Regions from separate parts of the Homo sapiens genome. Here region 2 is linked to region 1. Evidence: promoter capture Hi-C in 16 types of primary human blood cells and fetal thymus (Javierre and others, 2016). All regions are on one chromosome and are shown on one strand. The core of a region is centred on a gene start or on the middle of the fragment in contact, and the rest is flanking DNA. Distances in the headings are between cores, read along the strand shown.

The links. The method cuts DNA at HindIII sites, captures the fragments that hold promoters and counts their contacts. A CHiCAGO score of 5 or more calls a contact.
Region 2: the fragment with the promoter of FAM78B here is called in contact with the fragment with the promoter of POGK in region 1 in 5 of 17 cell types (M1 macrophages, M0 macrophages, endothelial precursors and 2 more); the score reaches 9.6 in M1 macrophages.

What each region holds. Positions count from the first base shown.
Region 1 is chr1:166,835,635-166,842,973 of GRCh38, reverse strand. It overlaps POGK (pogo transposable element derived with KRAB domain), which reads right to left and starts at 3,499. Exons shown (of 6, transcript NM_017542.5): 1 at 3,370-3,499; 2 at 1,886-2,019. The coding sequence starts at 2,017. RefSeq lists silencers at 2,974-3,213, 3,314-3,743. The HindIII fragment of the contact is 10,121 bases long and covers 1-7,339 here.
Region 2 is chr1:166,162,143-166,169,481 of GRCh38, reverse strand. It overlaps FAM78B (family with sequence similarity 78 member B), which reads left to right and starts at 2,481. Exons shown (of 2, transcript NM_001017961.5): 1 at 2,481-3,496. The coding sequence starts at 3,234. It overlaps LOC112268276 (a long non-coding RNA gene), which reads right to left and starts at 3,605. Exons shown (of 3, transcript XR_002958633.2): 1 at 3,428-3,605. RefSeq lists silencers at 147-206, 2,241-2,730, 2,771-2,830 and enhancers at 3,221-3,270, 3,371-3,540, 2,712-3,614. The HindIII fragment of the contact is 5,998 bases long and covers 1-4,901 here.

The DNA of each region.
Region 1 (7,339 bases), core at 2,250-4,749:
AACCAAAATACATATTTTAAAAACAGATTCTTTTCTTCTAATGCTCTAGAGCAGGGTTTCTCAACCTCAGCACAACTGACATTTTGGGCCAGTTACCTCTTTGTTGTGTGTGTATGTGTGTGTGTGTGTGGTGGTGGGGGGGCATCCTGTGCACTGTAGATATCTAGCAGCTCCCCTGGCTTCTATCCACTAGATGCCAGGAGGATCTCCCAGTCCCCAACGCACCCCCACCAAGTCAGACCAACAAAAGTGTTTCCAGATATTGCCAAATATCCAGGGGTGGGGAAAGGGGGTAGTGTTTCTAGATGTTGCCAAATGTCCAGGGGTGGGGGCAAAATTGCTCACTGCTCAAGATTAGGCCTTGTCCAGGAAGCCCCGGAGTTCTCAGCCTGAATGAGGCATCCCCTCATCTTGGCTCCTGGTGCATCCTTGCAGACTTCCACCACTGCACTCTGCACACTGTGCTTACTATTACTTATGTTTACTTTCCTGCCTTGCTCACAAGACTGGAAATTCCATCAGGAAAAGAGTCTCTCTTTACGCCCAGCACTGTGCTTGGTAACTGTGGATGGATGGCTGATTGCCTGGAGGCCACAAATGCCCAATCCCCAGCACCACCAGCTGCTGGACTCCCTCCTCCAGCCCTTCTGGTTACTTCCTTCTTTTCCCACCTAAGCATGGTTGGTCTTCATCTTGCTCCTTCCTCACTGTCCCAACATTCACTTTCATTGCACCTGTTCTCCAAGGCTCTCCATTTAGATGTTCTGGGTTGACCAATCTAGCCTCAAAGCCCTGAGTTTTGACTGCCTTGAGTTCTTGTTCCAGGCTAAATAGACCTGACGCCTGCTTGGATCAGAATTGGGAAGAAGGATGTGGTGGGCAAAGAACACTGATGAGACAAAGGCAGCGCGGTGTCCACAGCTAGACTGGCAAACTGAGAGCCTGTGGTTGCACTGTTTTTTTTTTTTTTAAATTAAGGTATAGCATACATATGGTAAAATGCATTACTTTTAAGGGTGCAGCTCAGGAGACCTGTTTTGAAGAACAAATGTCAGTGTTCATGTGTAACCTTAGGGCAAGGCAGATAATCTTTCTGCATCCCAGTTCTCTCCTCTGGTAGGGAACAATTTAGAAGTACCATGCTTGTATGGATAGGGGCTCTTCATGGAAGCAAAGGATACTATGTATACTGACAATGTTTATACACAACGGAAAATAAGCAGAGAAAAGGAATGTCAATTTGTTGCTTATTTAAAATGTTTACTATTCATGCCTAATTACCACGAAGTCCAGTAACTACGGTGAATAACTATCTGTAACTATAAGTATCTACTGCATTTGCATTTGTATAAACCGACCTCTATCATACTATTCTGCGTGTATACCCTGAATCTCTGTATTCCCTGCTGCCCACCATTTCTATCCAGGTCAGCTGGACAGGCAGCTCTCCTGTGTCAACTGTGGTAAGAGGTGCTCACACAGAACCAACTAGCCTAACCTCTCATGTCAACCCAATGACTCGAGTCTTATTTAAAATGGTTCCCTTCAACCAGCAGTAAGTCAACAAACATTTACTTGGTGCCTACAATGTGCCTGGCATCAAACGCAGTGCAGGATAAGTGGGTGAACGAGAGAGACAAGGTCCTGGCTTCTAGGACTTCCAATTGAACGATGACAAGCTACATGGCTGAGGGACTGTTTCCATAACACCTCCTCCATTCTTTGCACTGCCTTTTAAAGCCACAGAGCTGTTTTCTCAGGAATGCAAACACACCGGGCTGGGCTATTTTTACTTCCCACGTCTGTCTGAGGAGGAGACTTAAAGCAAGCTGGGCTCTCAGGCCTGCATCTGCTGGCTGTGTGGACTCCACACCTTCTTACTTACCCATCCGCCCTCAGAGCAGATTCGTACTTTCTGCATGTCTGCCGGGCCGTCCTCTAGTTCCCGGCTCTGAATCTCTTCTTCCTCTTCCTCTTCTTTCAGGCTCAAATTGAGAGGGTAGGCTGTGGACTCCATCTCTGCAAGCAAGATTCAGGTTCAGAAAAACCAGGTGTCACTGTGACCTCCCCAAAGCCTATGATGGGGGAGGCTGAGCCACATACAAACCTCTTTAGCCCCAAGCACTGTTCCCGCTGGAGGGAAGTAAGGAAACAAGAGTCGGCCAGGAAGCTACAGGGTGACATGTTTAATTATGATAAGAGAGGCTGTGGGTAGATAACGTATCTGGCTGCCTTCAAATATTTAAAAAGCTATCTGGGGAAGAGAACCCAGACTGGTTTGTAGAGACTGGACGGCAGAACAGAGGCCGGCCAGTGGATAAATACTCCTGGAAAAGGTTTTAAGCAGTGAGAAAGGCAGTACTTTCTCACAGCCAGTGCCACCCAAACAGGAATCAGAGGCAGGGGAAAGGTGCTGATTTCCTATCAGTGAAGGTGTCTGAACACAGATTGGACACTTACTCAACTGGAATGGGTGCTAGAAGCCAGTTAAGCATGGGCGGAGCGGTTGGCTCAGTAGGCCCATTGCCTGGATTTTCCAAATTCAAAGGTTCTGTCCACGAGCTGGTTCAGAAAATAGGGTCATTCTACCTTAAGGGACTTTGCAAACGCAGGAGTCAGTGAAACATAGTGAGGGTTATGCCTGGATACCCAAAAAGGTGCAGAAATCGGCTGGGGCCCACCCCGACAGGGAAATAACCCATTGCCTCTGGGCTGCAAATTCTCTATTCGCTGACTCTTGGCCAGTACAAAGGGCCGCACTCCTGCCCTCTATGGGCGCGGGCAATTCCTAGGTGTGGAGTGCGGATGCATCTTGAGGGCTGCATCGGGGAACCTCCAAAGAAAAGATCCCTCTGGAGTTCAAAGTCGGTTCCTTCGATATTTCCAAAAAAGATAGGCGAACGCGGCATGGATGGGTCTAGGCTTCAGATGCCTGCAGCTGGGGCCCGAACTTGGCGGCGGTCTCCCTGCCGGCTCCGGGGCAGAGGTGGGAGGGGCCGCCTCCCCGCGCTAAGGTGCCGCAACCAGGGCCGCCGCCCGCCCTGCCCCGCCTGCGCCACCGCCGCCGCGCCCCCGGGCGCGTTCGGATTTCTCCAGCCATCTTGCCCCATTTCCCTTTCTCCGCGGAACCGCGCCGGGAGCGCTTCCGCTGCCCCCTCCGCCCGGCCCGCCTCCCCACCTGGCCCCCTCCCGGCCCCAGCGCACCTGCCGGGCGGCGAGAGCCGGCGCCGCCCGCCTCCCCGGCGGGCCCGCAACAAAGGCGGCGGCGGCGGCGGCGCAGCCTCGGCGCCCCCGCCTCTGCCGCGGCCCAGCCGCCCGGGACCCGGGGGAGGGGCCGCGCCGCCGCCGCCCCCGCCCGCGCGCACTCACCGCCGGGCCCAGCGGCCAGGGCGCGGGGTGGGGACGCGAGGGCTCCGGCCCGGCTGTCACAGCGCCATCCTTTCCGCCTCTCCGTCCTCCCGTGCGCGCGGCCCCTCGGGAGGGAGCGGGGAGGACACGTGGTGGGAGGAGGGAGGGTCCGGCCCGGAGCTGAGGGTGTTGGGAGGCGAGGGGAGGAGCGCGGCTGATGTCAGCAGGCCTCGGCGGCGCCGGGGGACGGCGCCCGCGCGAGCTCCGGGGCCCTCCTCTAGGCGCGGCTTCCGGCCGGTCCGGGCAGTCCCTGGCGGGCCTGGGTAGCCGTGCCCTCGGCCTTCCCCGCCCCGCCCGATGCAGGCCGCTTCCAGTGCTGCGTGTGACCTCGGCGTGGACGAGGCAGGAAGAGCCCAGATTGATTTTAACCGAGCGTAGCGTGGGCGCACAGTTCCATGTGCTCATTTGCAGTCACCAGCGGGTTGCACTTGCTTGGACGAGCTCTCCAGGCGTTCTCGCCGTGCTTCAGGCAATGAAAGGCTAGACCGGCAAGAGCGTGTAGGGGCATGAGGAGGGGTCTTTGGGGAAGAGTATTCGTATTCTGGCAGCGGGCTCCTGTCCAGAACTTCGTCATATACATGGAGAAGGAACTTCCTGATTTTTGTAGCTGTTGCTTAATATCCCAAGCATGTAATTCCTTGGATGAAGTGGGTGTATAGAAGGACCTTTCTTCTCCAAAACGTCCAAAGGAGTTGTTTACTCTCAGCTCTGTGGGCAATACAACAAAAGTGACCTGAGAAGCCCTGAAGCCCTTTTCATTCCAGAAAAAGATTCTGGGTATGGGTTTTTGTTGAGAACTTGTTGAAGAAAAAATTATTCTGACACTTGTTAAAACAGTAAGGAAGACTTTATACAGGGTTATTGCTATAGGTGTAAAGATGATCACACTGGGGGGAGAGATGAGGTCTAACACGGAATACAGTAAGGACAGCTGGGGATGTATAGCCAAGGAGCAGAACGAAGGGGTCAGTAGATGGAAAGTTACTGATACGAGACATCAAGCACCTAGAGGGATTCTTGCTGAACCCACTTAACAGGATTCTTGCTGAAGGCAGGCTAGGGCGATCAGATATCAAGGGTGGGGGAATGAGAAATTTGATCAGATATCCAGGGTGATCAGATATCAAGGGTGGTGATTTCTCTCTAACCTAACTTAGCAGGGTTCTTGCTAAAATAGAGCTGGGCAGGCCAAAGGTTCGGGGTGAGTGGTCAGGGGACCAGGGTGGAGGCCTGCTGAAGAAGAGGACTTAAGCCTGATTAAACTTTGGTCAAGGAAAGAGTCCGTCAAACTCTTCAGATTGTCTCTGAGACCTGAATATCTGTTGGAAAAGACCTGTCTTTCCAAGTTTTTGTGGCCACTACTACTTACATGTGAATTTTACTTCTCTCAGTCATGGGAGAGGTCACTGTGCACTGTGCTCTTAACACGTAAAATGTAGCATGACATAACGTACACATCTTGGAAGTGCAATCACGGTGACAACCCAAGACCGTAGAAGATCTAATCTGTGGGTGGAAAAGATCGTTCAAATATTGGGAGGGAGGCTAGAATTTACTTTTTTGTTTTAATGAACAATTATTTTTGTGTAAAAGTAAGTATTTGTAGAACAGGAGTGACATGTTAGTTTGAATTGATTGACATTGCCCTCTTAATTTTTCTGAGGAAATGGCAGATTCAAACAGAAAGTGAGGAGGACATTAGGAAGGGAGAAGAGTAATAGGGATGTTGCTGGCACCCCAGCATCTTAGAAAAGAAATTAATACAGTTTTGAGATAGACACACACACACACACACACACAGACACACACACACGAAAAACCCTACTATGTTAGAGTTTTAGTCTCTGAGAGCCCTAATGTTCTCATGGGCTTGGATTAGGTGTCCCTGGGAAGAAATTAAGAGTGACCCACCCGAATTCTTGACTTTGAGCCCACAGCCCCATGATCTCAATTACTGTTAGAGGATCTTAGAGGATCCACCTTTTTACGGGTCTGTAATTGCTAACAAGACTTACTCTAGGAGCAACGTGCTGGCCTAGGCACAATACACTACAGACTCATGTTTAAGTGGTTTTCTAAGTCATTGTGCTTCTCTTTGCTGGTGTTTCATCTGCAAAAAGAGAGTTGAACCATATATTGTCCTAACATTCTCTCAGCTCTGTTATTGTTCCCATTCTCCATAAGACTTTATCTGAGTCTGAATGGGGAGTGATTGAAGCCAGTCTTTGAGACAGTGCATTACTCTGGTAATTCAATAGGATGAGTTTCTCTTAGTTGGTGGCTAATATCAGCCGAACATCCATTTAATCAACATAATAGTTCTTTAATGATGCTGTTGGTCTGACTTCATCCTTCCTCCTATTGAATTATTATAGTACCCAAACTATAGGAATTCCAAAGAGCCTCAAATTTTACAAAATACTCATTTCTAACTGTAGTGTTCCCTGGTGAATACACATTTCTGATTTCCTTCAGCAGAGGCCCCATGGCCAGGTCAATATAGCCACGGGCCCACATACGTCTGTTCCTCGGGGACCGCTGTAGACTGAAGTAATAGTCTTGGTACTTTGTGTCCCTGTGGTAGTGTTATAAGCCACACCTTTGCTGAAGTGTCATGTGCAGAATGTACTTCAATGCACCTTCACTTGGCCTGCTTCTATGGTGAGCTTCAGCCAATGGAATGTGGGAGGAAGTGACTGTGTGTGAGTCCTGAGTCCTAAGAGGCCTCAGAAGTTTCTCTTTGCACCTCTGGGAGCTTTTGATCTCTGCTATGACAAAAGCATGCTTAAGTAGTCACTGCCCCTCCAACTTAGGCATCAGAAGGAGGCATGTGTTACAGAGCTATCCTTGCTAATATGAAGACCAGTGACCATTAGAAGAGATTATTGTTGTTTTAAGCTACTGAGTTCTGGGGTGCCTTGTTATAGAGCAATTTTAAGGGTGTAGCTTATTGAGATGATGACAAGAGGCAACCTTGGCCTTAGGGCTCCCAGTCTTGGCCCTCAAGGAGTTGCTCTGAAGCAGGAGAAGGAGAATTGACCATTTTGTGGTACATATCCTCAGGTATGTGGACAAGGAAATCCTAGATGGGGAGGAAAGGAGGAGAGAACCAAATGGGGAAGGAGCATCACTGCTGACTGTATCTTTCTCTTTCCTGGGATTCTGGCACTTCAGAGGAAGAGCAAGATATGAGCCCTAGCCCTAGAAATTACCCCATAAGAAGCCAGGCATGCTGGCTTGTATCTGTAATCCCAGCTACTCAGGAGGCTGTAGGAGGATTGCTTGAGGCCAGGAGTTCAAAACCAGCCTGAGCAACATAGTGAGACCCTATCTGTTTTCAAAAATATTACCCAATAAAGCCAGAAGTTATTCCTGGGACATCTTGATAAAATGGTAAGGAAAATCCTGCTCTGGTCAGTTCCTTGGAAGGACTTAGAAGTTCTTGGAGAGGAGGTGTGTTGTTAGAGCACCTCAGAGAGTTAAGGAACACTCAGTGGTTTCTTTAGAAGAGGAAAGGGAATTATAACACTTAGGGTCATACTATTATAGCTACTGTAACAAACAGACCCCAAATGCATAAAGGCACAAACACAACAGAAGTGTGGTTGATGTAATAGTCCAGCGTGTTTCTGCCACAGGTGACTCCTGATGCCGTGATTTAGGATCCGTGTTCCTTCTGTCTTTTGGCTTTGTCGCCACCTGGGGCCTGTGGTTTTCTCCATCTGCCAGAGTGAAGGGGAGAGAAAACAAAGAAGGCACAACCTTTTCTTGCCCCTACAGTGACACATGTCTCTTTTATTCACATTCCATTGGTTGGGATCAGTTACATGGTCACACCTGTATGAGAGAAGTTTGGAAAATGTGTGTGTTATCTCTATATAGAAGGGGAGTAGAGGGAGGGAGGGGAGGAAGGAGGGAGGGAGGAAGGGAG
Region 2 (7,339 bases), core at 1,232-3,731, 670 kb after region 1:
ACTCAAATTAAGAAACATAACTACATTCCCCAATGAAATGCTTTCCTTTTGGTCTATTGCCTGGAACCTAATAACCACTGAAACTCAAACTCTGACCCCACCCTGCCCCCCAAATACCTCCAAGAACCTCGAACTTAACATGACATCACCCACAGTCCCAAGCTGCTTCCCCTTCTATCACCTTGTTCAGTTACCAAGTAAATACATTTACCTCCTAAGTGATTCTTAAATGCAAATGCAGCCAGGCCTCTCCAGCCCCACAGCACTGCCCCAAGCTAGCCGAGGGTCAAAGTATCTGTCATCACAATATTCTGAAACGCTGCCTCCTCTATTCTCTATATGGATGCAGAGTAATTTTTCTCAAAATGCATGGCTTGCCTTCATTGGCTTCCACTGAAGTTTAAGATAAGGTCCTATCAAGAGAAGACACTGGGCCCTACTAGAGGGTGAAGGGTAGGAGGAGGCAGAGGATAAAAAAAAAATACCTATTGGGTACTATCCTCATTACCAGGGTGATAAAATAATCTGTCCAACAAACCCCTATGACATGCAATTTACCTATATAACAAACCTGCACCTGTACCTCTGAACCTAAAAGTTAAAAAAATTATTCACCAAACCCAGTGATCAAGGTTAATAACACCAGTAAAAAGTCATATTGCTATCATGTACCCCTGACATAATGCAATGAGAAGGCACTTCATCTTCATGGTATTCATCCCCCAAATCCAAAACCCTGGTCTAATCATGAGGAAACATCAGATAAATGCAAATGAGGAACAATTCTACAGAATATCTGACCAGTCCTCTTTAAAAATGTCAAGGTCATGAAAAACAGAGAAAGACTGAGAAGCTGTCACAGATTGAGAAGAATAAGGAGATGTAATGACTAAATGCAACATCATATCTTGGATTAGATTCTAGAGAAAAAAAGACATTAGTGGAAAAACTAGTAAAATCAAAATAAAGTCTGTAGTCTTAATTTTAAAAAGAAAAAAGATATGGTCTATCAACAACCAATTGATTCTTGGACAGTGATTCTGATGCCCATGGTCGACACATAACACCTTGAGAAATGCCTTGACTGTGAGTTGTTTCTCCCCCTCAGTACAGGATGAGTTCTTTCATATCTCTATGCATTTTGCATTTGCCAAATGCTGGTCCTGTACTACTCATTCACCTTTCTCTTTTCAGTGAGACTCTACAGTCTGTCAGTATTCAATTTAAATGTCACTACTTGAGCAAAGTCACACGTAAATCTCTCAGTGGCCAGAGAGCCACTGAGTGGCTCTCTGACCACTGAGGGATTTACATGTGGCCAGAGATTTACATGTCTGGCCTTCCACGGCACTGGATACACAACCCCACTAAAGCAGGTGTCACAGTTTACTATAATAACTTGTTAACAGGTTTATTTTCTCCAGTGATCCATGTGCTCTTTTTCAACTTTGAATCCCTAGTACCTAGCACTATGTTTGGCTCCTGCCAGGCAGGCAGTCAGCCTTTGCTGAATGAAAGGACCAGTGATTGAGGTCTGTGGCTACACGGTAAAATGAGAGAGACGAGTCATCAAAGGGAAAAACTGCTTTTTTGTTAACTATAAAGTGAACCAAGGTGTCAGAACAGTTAAAACAAGGATGAAGAGTGCTTTTAGATCTCAATCAATTTTTAAATTACTCGTCACACCTGTCCTAGCTAAAGACTAACTCTAGCACCTCCTGCGGCCTGTTAGTCAGTATTTCACACTTGGGCAGCAGATCCAGCAAATGTTCAATGATCGCAGAAGAAATACTTAGAAGCTATTGGCTTTGAAAATAAAAATGTAAGAAGATGCCTAGTAAAAGCATCTGCTAAATATTCTTCCTGTTTGGCACATTAGACTGCAGTATCAGACACATGACCGTGGTCATACTGTACACAATGCCCAATGTCTGCCAAAACTCTGGCATATGAGAGACTTAGTGCTGGAGTACGGAGGGATTCTTCCGGTATCCCCACTACACACAGTGGTGGAAAGAAGAGCTTCCAGAACAAACCCAGTCAGGCAAAGAGGCAAATACACTGCATTTAGTAACGCTGCTGGAGCCCGCCCTTCACCCTTTCTGAAGGTAGGATACTAAAAGGGCTCAAGCCTAAATCTAATCCAACAAGCTATATTCTGAATAACGACCAATCTCTGATAAAGCTGTTCCCCTAACCCTTCTGCTGCCCGAAACACTCACTCTACAGCCCCTACTGGGCTACCGGGTTCCCCACTGGACTCTGGACAGCGCCGCGCCCTGCTCGGCCTCACCCACCCGGTGGCGCTTGGGCCCGCCCTAGTCCCCCACCCCCACCCCAGGGCACCACCTACCAGGGCCCCGCCCCGCCTCAGCCCCACGTGCGGGGCCCCACCCCGGCGCTAGCGGCCCTTTAAACACCCCCACCCTTACACATTACCCCCCCCCCACCCGGACGGCAGCCGAATAGGGACAAAACTCATGGCGTACAGCCAGTTTCCTCCGCGGAGCACGTCCTGTGCTGCTCCAGCCGTTGGGGCTCTCCACCCCGGGCCACAGCCTCCTGGCGCCCCCCGGGCCGAGGCAGCCGGGCCGAGGAGTGTCGGTGTGGTCCGGCTACGGGGCGGGGCCGGCGGGAGCTCCGGTCGCCGCCGCCGCCGCTGCTGCCTCCGCCTGCCTCTTGGGCCGCCCGCTCGCCCGCCGCTGGGTGCGCTGCACGCGGGGGGCAGCCGTGGTGCAGAGGTTCATGCAGCGGCGGCGGCGGCGGCGGCTGCTGCTGCTGCCGCCGCGGAGGCAGACAGACCGGGCGCTGCCACCGCCGCCCTCCCCCGGCTCCATGCCGCCGCCGCTGCCGCCTCCTCCTCTCCGGCGAGGGGCGGGGGGCTCCGGCCCGGGGTGGGCACCATTCCTCGCAGCGCCGCTCCCCTCCCTGCCCTCCGCCCGGGCGCTGGAGCCGGCGAGGGCACCCGCCGCCTCCTAGGAGTGCACCCTCCGCGCGCCCTGCCGGAGCGAGGGGGCGGGCGTGGGCGGACGTCGGGGCAGCGGGGACCCCGCGCGGCTGCAAGAGGAGGGGGCTTCCCCAAGGATGCCCGGCGGCTCCCCGCTCCTAGGTGCGAGCTGAGTCTGACCGGGAGCGAGCGGCGCGTCGCCATGCCGGCGTGACGGGCGCCCCCGGCTGCCCGCGCGGGCCCCCGCGCTGCCCCACGCCGCGCCGTGCCGGCACCGGGCTGCAGGATGGGCTGTATCCAAAGCATCACCTGCAAGGCGCGGATCCGGCGCGAGAACATCGTGGTGTACGATGTGTGCGCCACCATCGACCAGTGCCCCACGCGCATCGAGGAGACCTCGCCCATCGTCCTGCGCTACAAGACCCCCTACTTCAAAGCCTCCGCCCGCGTGGTCATGCCCCCCATCCCCCGCCACGAGACCTGGGTGGTGGGCTGGATTCAGGCGTGCAATCAGATGGAGTTCTTCAACACCTACAGCGACCTGGGCATGTAAGCGACTCGCCGCGCGGCACGGGAGCGGACTCTGGGCCCCCAGCTCTGCTTGCCACCTTGACCCCCCTCCCCAGCTCCTTCCTACTGCTGTCCCCATCGTCTTTCTAAACCTTCCTCCCGCCTCCTCTCCCACCTCCCTCCTCCCTACGCTTTTGTTTCAGTGACAGGGCGGGTGTAGGGAGGCTCCTTGCGAAGGCATTTTCTCGTGGTTTGCTTCTGACTTCCCAGAAACGCGAGGAGAAAGGTGCGGGGCGGGAAGAACGCGACAAGGAGGGTTCGAGAGGCGGAGGTGGGGATGGCTGGCGAGTGCCTGGCGAGTTTCAGGGCGCCGTCTGTGCTTTGTGGGGCTCCCCGGGAAGAGTTTGGGGGAAACCATAGAGGAGTGGAGTGGAGTGCCGGGGGCGCATGGGCTGTGCCGCGCGTCCTTTGGAGAAACCGGAGCGGGCTTGGAAGAGCAGGTCCCGGGCATCCGAGCGGGAGTTGGTAGTTCTGTCCTTGCCCTCGCGACTGTTGAAGTTTCGAACCCTTGTCCCCCGGGCCAGGGAGCCCGGAGGCGTTTCCGTCTGGAACCACAAGCCGGACACAGTTGCCTCTCTGTTTCCGCGCCCCCTGGACCAGTTCTGGTGGGGAGCTGGAAGGCACCGAGTGCGTCCCGGCCAAGAAGGGCGGATAGCCTTGTGCGAGCAGCGTTCGGCTGGCGCGGCGCGGGGTGTTTCTTATGCTAAAGGAAAGGATGGATCTCTTGTCTGTCTAGGGTCCTTACTTTTTAAAACTTTCCTAATTGCGGCACTGGAAGGGATTCCCCTGGCGCCCACCGCCGAATTCTATCGGCGAGCTGGGAGCTCTCCAACTTTCAGCAGCGCCGGTTGGTGCGCGCCGGGCTTGGCTGCTGCGGTGAAGACCAAGGATCGCCGCGGCTCCTCAACCGCCAGGGGCCGCAGGCTACGGGCGGTCGCGTCCGGGACTTTTATATTTACCAAATTTTCATAACTCCGCACCCGCCTCCTTTCAGAACTAGACTCTGAGCAGGTGGCAACGACAATAGCTAAAAGGTTTAGGGCCTGCCTTCTACCTGCTGTTACAATGTAGGTCTAGAACACCCTAATTAGCCAGTCTGCAGCCTACAGGGAAACCCTTTTTCTGGAAATTCAACCTCATTTCACTTATTAATCTAAAACTCTAGAGCTCCCAAGGTTCGTCTATTTAATATGGATATGGGGTGGGGGAGTTCCCATTTTAAAAGGTCAAACCATCTTTTTAGCAGCAGTTTGCAGGCTTTTTATTGCACTCTGAGAGCATGTCAGTTAACACTAGTCATAGGCGCTAAAAGAAATTTGACAGGTCGTTGTTTTCCTTTTTTCCTCCCAAAGATTTTGCACTTTTCTCTTTAAGCACAAAAGCTTAATCCTTGAGAAAACTCAATTCCTAGTGAAGAAATGTGAGGCCCAGTTTCCAATATGCCTCAGCACACTGTATTCTTCCAGAGAAGACAGCTAGATGTGAGAAATGGGGGATATTTTATTTGGGGCGAATCATGCCATTTAAAAACTGACATACCCTCAAAAGAATGATTATATGTGAACACATGTGTCTCTTAAAACTGCTTTTTAAAATAAATCCATTGTTTCCAGCCAAGTCAGAGAAAGCCACAGGCAGGGCAAGAGCCCTTCCTCTCATTTCCCTGGCCTCACCCTGATGGCAGTGGGTTGCTGGAGGACAGCAAGTGCTCCCCACAGCAGCCTGGGGCCCCTGGTAGAGGAAGCCAGGAGTGACTGTGCAGAAGCAGCCTCACTTTTCCCAAGACTGCACAGCGGAACTCTCTGTTGCCTCAAATCTCTTATGAATAAGTAAAAGCAAATATATAAATACAGAATTATTTCCGTAAAACTTACTTTACCTTAGGAGAAGTCAAGTTGAGATATAAACAGACATGGTAGTTGAACTTCCTGGAATCTATAGGGAAGGTATGTCCTCACTGGAACCAACTTTAATGGATATGAATCAGTGACAGGATTCCTGACCCTTCCCCACTGAATCCTTGCATTTGGGATTTGGAAAGTGGTTTTGTTTTTAAACTGCCACTTTTGATATTTTAAGATTCTTGGTTTTCATGTAGATGTAGGAGAGCAAAAATAGACCCCCAATAAATCATAAAGCATATTATTATAGATTTGTGTCCACAGTCTACCTGTTTCTTCATGGTTGCAATAATTGCTATGTGTTAAAGGCCACTTTGGAGCCCAAATTTGAATGAACCAATTTCCACAAGATATTTATGCCTGGAAAATTTTGCTAGTGTAAACTTTTTAATGGGAATTCATATTGCATGAAAGTTGCTGCAGTCTATTAGTTATTATGTCTACTTTAGCCAATATCTGGATTGTAAAAAATAGCATGGAGTGATTTTTCACCTCTGTGCAGTGTTCTGTCACATGAACCACAATATGGTGAAAGGGTTTGGATTAGAAAACTGCCTTTTCAATATTTTGAAAAGGATTGTGCCAGAGGAAATCCACAACATAAAATGGCAAGAAACTCCTGTTTACAGGATTGAAAGAAAGCCTGAGGTTTTGTGGTTTAAATTGTAAACTTTTCCAAGAAGGGGTAGGCTTCTAAAAGAACATTTGAAATAGTTGATGGCTATGATGGCCAGAGCTTAATTTGAACTTGAACTCATTTCCATGGCACTTCCTCGAATGATTCTATAGAAACCAGGCTGGTGAAGAGTTGTGGCACCTATTTATTTCTCATTTGGCCCTGGTGAATCTTGCTAGTGCAGCCTTGAACAGACTGCTGCAAGTCTTCATCCCTCGGGGAGGAAGGGCTCCTGACTCTCTCAATCAACCTGTCAATATACAAACATTTACCAAATGCTTCTGCTGTGCAGGCAGCAGCACCAAAGAAAAAGGAATATGCAGGCAGTTTTCACTGCTTCTCATTATAAGACGACAAATGCAGAGAAAAGCAGCGCTCTTTGGTGGTGTGGAAGAAATGCCTGAGAGCGCTGGCGGGCCAAGCAGGGTGTTCTAGAGGTGAATGGACTCAAGGTGAACTCTGAGGTATGGGTAATATTCAGGTAGGCAAGGAGGAGGGACTAATTCCAAAGGGGAAGACCAGCAAAAATATGGAGGTAGGAAAATAGAAGGTGTTTTAAGGGGGCATAAGTGGGCCAGAGTGGAGTGTTCAAGAAGGAGAACAGTAGGAGATGAGGTTTGAAAGGTAGCTTGGGGTCTGTTGGGTGGGCCCAGAATAACATAGTCTGGAAAAGGAAAAGATTAAAGTCAGATCTTGACCAGACAGAGGATGTCAGGAAGCTCTTCCTATCTTCTTTATACCTCTTGAGTATGCAGAAGCTTTCCAACAGAAGTGGAAGACGTTTATAATGGAACAGTTTTGAATGCTGGAGTACAACGCTGAAGAGGTTTCCTGAGTAAGATTTGAGCAAGGAATGGGGCTCTTGTGCCAGGGTTGAATGAGATGAAGACAAGGTCAGGGAAAACCAGCAATAGCTAAAGCCCCTTCTCATTCTCTTTGAGTCTTCTGGGGCTATAAGGGAACTTTTAATGGTCAGGCTGGGCTGATAGTATGGAAACCATCTCCACTGCCAATTTGGAAAAGTTTGGCCTGTGTGAAACTTTAGGAAGTCATAGCTCAGTCATAGCTTCAAGAGACAGGTCCTGCCTGTCCCTCTACTCCTCCTTCAGAATCAAGATTATTGAGGATTTGGCTGTACCCGCTCACCTCTGTTGCCTGTTCAGTTTAGTCCAAGCTGATCTCTATCCATTCTGAAACTGCTCTTGCTAAGTTCGTCTGTGATTTCCATGTTGCCGAATCCCTCAG